2 separate regions of the Homo sapiens genome follow, and region 2 is linked to region 1. Evidence: promoter capture Hi-C in human tissues and cell types (Jung and others, 2019). All regions are on one chromosome and are shown on one strand. The core of a region is centred on a gene start or on the middle of the fragment in contact, and the rest is flanking DNA. Distances in the headings are between cores, read along the strand shown. Region 1 holds the start of KCNE1 (potassium voltage-gated channel subfamily E regulatory subunit 1). Region 2 has its middle 21 kb from the start of CLIC6.

Region 1 (3,439 bases), core at 236-2,735:
CCTGGCTGGTGTGCAGCCACCAGAGGCTGAAGCTCACTGACGTCTGTCTGGGGCCCAGGATCACCTTCCTTGATTCCAGCTCTCTCAGGCTGTCAGGACCTGGCGCTGGGAGGCACTAGGCCATGCCCTGGCCTGAGGCCTTCTCTCTCCCTCTTTGCCCTGTGTCTCTGCAGGGAAGCCCGGCCCTGCCCCTGGGAGGGTGGGGGCAGACGTGTGGAGAGTGGGTGTACAAGGCCAGGGTTTGCCAGGCCCAGGACAGCCTGGCACCTGTCAATGGATGAGCGCCTCTCCCTTAGCCTGATGTCAGGGTGGGCATGAGGGTGGGAGCAGAGGGTGCCTAACTGAGGAAAGGGTCTGTGCAACCCCCTTCTCCTACCAGTTCTCGTTTCTGAAGTCTCCTCAAGCACACTGCGGTGTCCACACCATTGGCAGCAGGCTCCTTCTCTTCAGGTGGTCTTAGGAACTTCTCAGAACTTTTTGAGTTATCCTTCTGGTCTCTTCCTCCTGAGCACGGTTCTCCTGGTTGAGCTCCAGGCCATGCCATTCAACGCCCTCCAGGACAGGCCGAAGGGCTTGTCTGTTTGGTGGTTGCTAAGGTTTGAAAAAAGCCAGCTGGAAACTTAATCCCCAAAGCAACAGTGTTGGGAGGTGGGACCTAATGGGAGGTGTTTAGTCATGAGGGCTCCACCCTTATGAATGGATTCTCTCTCTCTTGTTCTCTCTCTCTCTCTTCCCGCCCCGCCCACCCCTCCTTCCCCAACCTTGTGATACCTTCCACCATGTCATGGCAAGAAGGCCCTTGCCAGATGTGGCCCCTCCATCCTGGGTTCCCAGTCTCCAGAACCATGAGCCAAATGCATTTCTGTCTGTTACAAATTATGTACGGTGTGGTTTTCTGTGATGAACACAGTGCTGTACCAGGGCCCTCTTGCCAAGACAGCCAGCTTATAGGAGCCTGCATGTGAGGCCCGGACGTCCTACAGAGCAGCAGTTAGAGGTCTGGCCTTCTGGATAGGCACTGCCCTGCCCTGCACACAGGACCTTGGTGGGGCATGATGGGGCTCTTCACCACGCTGCCCTCATTTTAGGAGGTGGGCAACCCTTTCTCCCCCTTCTCCATGTGCTTCTGCAGTTGGAAGAAGTGAGGGGGGTTCAGACACACTTAAGCTGAGCTTAGAGCAAAGCATGTCCCTCAAGGTGACCTTGCCGCATGGCCTGAACCTAGAATTCCCCTGACCAGGGTGGACAGCCATCACCATGGGCCTTTCTGCCTGGCCTAGTATGGCTCTCCTTCGAACTCACCTAGACCCTTGCATCAAAGGACTCGGGGACTCTGCTGCAGTCATCCTAGCACGGTCGAGAGGAGTAGGAAGGTGCCCAGCGGCTCAGCCTTTAAGGAGGTCTATTGGTCACCATTGCTTCTGCCTTCTTGAGAACCATCACCCTCGGAGGATCCGGTAGTGTATCCCAGTCAAGTGTCAAATGCGTTGTTCCCTGGAGAGGAAGGCTTATTTCCAGAAAGTACTCTGACGTTTTGTAATTTGTGATTTCTATCACTGGCTCAGTGGCCTACCCACTGCTCAGCTCATGTGGCATGACCAGGCTGGGGCGTCGGGTCATCTTGTTCTCTGGGTGTGTGGCAACACTGGTTTATGGCGTAATTTCCTTCCTGAGAAGAAATTCAGTAATTTCTAATATTCAGGGCTTTAGGTAGAGGCCTGAAAATCACTCTCCATGCCTCTTTCAGTATTTTATATATAGTTGTCTCTTGGTATCCATGGGGTTTGGTTCCAGAATCCCCTGCAGATACCAAAATTTGCGAATGTTCAAGTCCTTTATATATAGTGGCATAGTATTTGCATATAACCTATGCATATCAGCCAATCATAGATGGTGATTTAAATCATCTCTTGATTACTTCTAACACCTAATACTATGTAAATGCTTTGTAAGTAGTTGTTACCTGGCATTTTTTTATTTGTTTTATTTTTGTTGTTGTTTCATTAATTTTATTTTATTTTTGGAATATTTTCAGTCCATTGTTGGTTGAATCCACAGATGCAGAAGCCTTAGACACAGAGGGCCGACCACACCTATGTATGCTGTTCTTAAAGTAGCAACATATTTGTTCTGAACATAGAAGAAATTAGTCGTCTATTAGACTTTAAGGGAGTAAATATGGTCCAAGTTGATTTTTAAATTTAGCAAATAGTCATAGACATATCAGTGTCTTACAGAAAATATTTATTGGAATGCTCACTCTCTCATTTGGGATACTGCTTTGCCTTGCTGTGTCTTAAGAATGTCATCAGAGCATCACACACTTGAAAAACGTTTTTAAAAGGATATGATGATAATTAAGACCTTCTCCCCAACCCCTGCCCATTATCCAAGATCAATGTTTTTTTCCTTTATCCTGATTTTAAAATCAAGTACACTTTATTGAGGCATACTTTACATGAAGCAAAATGTACCCTTTCTAAATATGATAAGTTTGATGAGTTTTCAACAGATGTATACAGCTGTTACCATGACTGTGTCTTTACCCAGGTTCTTGCATTGCTCAATCCAGATACAGAATGTCTCCATCACCCTGACAAGTTCCTTTGTGCCGCACCCTCTAGCCAATCATCTGTTTTGAGGAGAGTTTTAAAACAAAGGTTTTTGTTCTTTTTCACTGATGACCATAACCTACCACAGACAGGGTCTCTCTCTCTCTCTCTCTCTCTTTTTCCCTGTTCTTGCGCCAGCTGCCTGACAATTTGTGGGATTAAAGCTCTAAGCTGCTTACTGGCTCTTCTGACTAGGGAGAGGGAGCAAGCCTCATTATTTTTCTATTCTTTTCAGTGACTGCTCACTCCTCTTCCTCCAAAATCCCTATCCATCCATCCATCCATCCATCCATCCATCCATCCATCCATCCATCCAACTTTCCATCTACCCATCTATCCTTCCATCTATCCAATCCACTTGCGTGTTGAACGTCTACTATGAGCCATTGGCTACCAGGAATCCCACTTCCACCCAAATTATGTTTCAACAGGGAAGACAAACAATTTAACAATTACGATAAAAAAGAAAATATGCCATACAATGGAAAAGAAGGGGGCATGATGGGAGACCCAGCGGGAGTAGCTGGCAACGATTCTTAGGGGGAAGAGACATTCCTAATAGACACCTGCAGGAGAAATATTAAAGAGTCAATCATTTCAGTAGCGCTTATTGTGACCAATAATGCAAGAAGTTTCTGGGTTCCCAGGCTGATGGGTTTGAAAGTCACTGCATCATGAATGTGCCCAGGACCCACACGTTGTTTTGTAAGAGAGGGGTTCAGTAAAATGTGAAATGACCGACATTCAACAGGCAGAACTGTGCAGAATGCACGCTTTGCCACTGATTGAAAGTGTTTCTTCAGTAGGTTTTGATAGAATATATTACT
Region 2 (3,439 bases), core at 514-3,013, 140 kb after region 1:
TTGCATTCGATTTCAGGAAGCGGTTGCATTAGATTTGTAGAGAGTGGGGGCCAAGGCATCATCCAGGCCACCTTCATCCCCTGGGACTGCTACTGCATCCTCCTAACTCATCTCCTGCGTGTTCTACATGCACAGCGGTCCATACCACCCCACAGTGGGCAGCCCCTTGGGGTGCCTTAATGCTCTTCGGATAAAGCCCAGACTTTCTGATGGGGCTTGTGGGGCCCTTCAAAGTGCAGTCCTTGGCTGGGTGTGTAGCTCATGCCTATAATCCCAATACCTTGGGAGGCTGAGGTGGGAGGATCATTTGAGGCCAGGAGTTCGAGACCAGCGTGGGCAACACAGTGAGACCCCATTTCTACAAATAATAGAAAATAAAAAATTAGCCAAGAGTGGTGGCTTGTGCCTCTAGTCCCAGCTACTCGGGAGGCTAAGGCAGGAAGATTGCTTGAACCCAGGAGTGCAAGACTTTAGTGAGCCATGATTGCACCACTGTACCTCCAACCTGGTCAAGAGAGTGAGACCCTGTCTCTAAAAATGAAAGAAATTTAAAAGGTAAGAACCAAGGGAAGTCCTTGCCTGCCTCTCCAGGCCTCTCAGTTGCCTGCTGTCCCTGTTCACACTTGGCTCCATCCTCACTGAGACAACTTTTTTCCCTGGCATACTCCTTGCTCTGGGTTTTTCCCATGCCCTTTCCTTGCCTGGAATGCCATCTCCCACCTTTTTCCTGGCCAGCAAAACCTCTATTCATCCTTCAGGTGTACCTCAGAGCTGACCAACCCTCCCCACATCTACCTGGCCTGGCCCTGGGTCCCAGTTGGGCACTCCTCCTAAATACTCCTAGATATGCAGAACATTTACTTCCTCATGTTGTCATTGTTTGTCTAATTGTCTGAAGCCCCCCAGGAATGTGGCTGCACAAGGACATAGACTAGATGGCCTTGTGACCCCTGTGTCCCTGGCCCCAGCACAGTGGCTGGCAACCAGCAGGTCCCAGTGCATGACTGCTAAATGCATGCACACATGGCACAATGCTTGCAACCAGGCACATGCTTCCCCAGCCTTAGGAAGGGTTACGTTCATGGGGTTAGGTTCACAGACGCTGGAGCCAGGCTGTCTGGGTACACTCTGCACTGTGGGGCTCTACCACTTCCCGACGGTGTGCCCTTGGGCAAATTGCTTACCTTCTCTATCCCACATCTTTACATCGTTAGCATTTACGTCAAGGATTATATTAATCATATGAGCTAATGTATGTTATGTGTTTATAGTAGTGCCTGGCATATCGTCAGCACCATAAAAGAGTTTGCTGTTCTAGCTTCAAAACTCTTCATAGAACTTACACTCGGTAACAGGATAAGAATTTTGATTTCAGGAGGGATGGCAGGTGATGGGATGATGAAGGGAGGGAGACTGGGCAGATTGGAGGGAGACTGGGCAGATTGGGAGTTCCTCATGTGTAAGAGGAAACCAAGAGCCTGCAATTCTCAAGTATAACATTACGCCCTCAGAGAAGTGGGTGGGAAGATTCCAGAGACTTGCTCATTTTACAAACATTTATGGTAGATTGATTTGGGGTCCAAGAAAGGAGAATGAAACTCTCTTTTTTCCATCCTCTCCTTTCGGCCCTCTCTTCCCAGGACTCACATGAATGAACGTCTCTGGACACCTAATCACCATTTATCAATCTCACTTCTATGAGAAAAACACATTTCAAGTACCTACCCTCCAGCTTGTCAACAAATTCATTAAAAAAGAAGGGAACATCAGTTATATAAAGCCATGGTGTTTTTGCCTTACTATCAAGCTTTTGGATGAAATGGAAAAGTTAAATCCGCCCGGGAGGCATTTCTAACTCTCCACATTTAGCCACGGAATAGTTAGACTAATACCTGAATTCTCCATTTACATTTTCAGCTTGCATTCACAGATCTGGAGTCATAGAGAAATTACTGGTGTGGTGTCAAGTCTAAGTTTTAATGCCTTGAGGGGAAGCAACTTCACAATTCTGAACAAGGTTATCATGAGTGGAGGAGAAACATTCTCCTGGTTCTTGAGCCGGAGTTCATGAGCTCACACTTTGGCAGATCTCATCACTGATCATTTGAGCTCACACAGCTCCAAATACAATGGAAACCACTGGGTTATTTGTCAGCTGTTGAGTTCATTTGGTTGTTTAAACAATGCAATCATGCCAGTGGAGTGGGGGCAGGCAGACAGCAAACACTGGCTCCGTGCAAACCTGTGCTCCGTGCCCCGAACAAGGCAAGGGCAATGTTGGCCTGATGTAAGGGTTCTGCTGGGCACCTGCTGTCTCAGACACCTCGGTTGAACTCCTAGCTCTGCTGCTTTCCAGAGTTATTTGATGCTGCAGAACGTCAGTCTGCTTATCTGTAAAATGGGCATAGTGATTTTAATTACCTCACAGAGGCCTAAAAGGGAGGAGTGATATAATCCACAGGAAGAGCTCAGCATATTAAATAATCATGACCCACTAGCTATGACTGCTACTGTCTCTGGGGGTTCAAGAGCAGACAGTAGAATCATACCAGGGGAGAGACCTGACTAGTATGAGCCCCTTGTTGGGCTTTTGGACTTTGAAACAGGGTGAGGAATGAAGCAGAGAGAGGGATGATAAATTGCTTTGCACAATAAATGAAGAGGGATTTGGGGGTTGCAAGCGGGCAAGCTGAGAGAGGATTCGGGATGACATGGGCAGGGACCAGCCCCCAACCCGCTGCCCATCACTGGCCCCAAACCTTGAGTGAGCATCTCCCATAGCAAGGAGCTGTGGATCCTAGTTTTCCAGGATAGCCTCATGGTTTGCACCTGTGGCCCCAGAGTAATCACTTTCACTTTCAGAAGTGTTTGGGTTTGGCTATAAATTATGTCCTAACTATGTCCAACTGCCTTCTGGGAGGTGGTATGTTAGAAAAACCACAGAAAAGAGGCTGCATTCACCTGGGCTAAGACAAGGAGGAGCGAAGAGAGTAGCAGGTGGAGGTAGGGTTGAGATGGGGCAGATGCAGGTGGTTAGAGCAGAGGGAGCCAGGTGAGACTGAGAGAGAGCTAGAAGATGAGGAATACTCAGGTAACTAGCATATGGATTACATTTAGAGTATTTTAAGATACAATTCACATATATTGAAACACAAAAATTTTATAAGCCCCCAAAGTCCCCTGTCCCTCTTTGTTGGCAATCCTTGTTCCCCGCTTTCTACCCTTGGCCAACCAATGATGGTTTAGACTTGGAAATAGTGTCTTATAAGTGGAATCACATGGTATGCAGCCTTTTGAGTCTGCCTTTTTCTACTTTTCATAAATGCACTTGTAGTTGATCTGTCTTGTTGCAAGTATCTGTAGCTTATTCTTTTTTAATACTGAAACATCTGTTTATCCATTCCCCAGTTCTAAGACTTTTAGGTTGTTTTCATTAATT

The links. Contacts are between HindIII fragments. The study calls those that stand out against the background at their distance.
Region 2: a fragment that was not itself captured here is called in contact with the fragment with the promoter of KCNE1 in region 1 in 3 of the 25 tissues and cell types used here (IMR-90 fibroblasts, lymphoblastoid cells and spleen).

Annotation. Positions count from the first base shown.
Region 1 is chr21:34,510,725-34,514,163 of GRCh38, forward strand. KCNE1 (potassium voltage-gated channel subfamily E regulatory subunit 1) reads right to left here and starts at 1,486. Exons shown (of 4, transcript NM_000219.6): 1 at 1,303-1,486; 2 at 377-591. The HindIII fragment of the contact is 8,709 bases long and covers 1-3,439 here.
Region 2 is chr21:34,646,711-34,650,149 of GRCh38, forward strand. No RefSeq gene overlaps it. Among named protein-coding and RNA genes, the nearest start is that of CLIC6, 21 kb to the right of the region's middle. The HindIII fragment of the contact is 3,209 bases long and covers 160-3,368 here.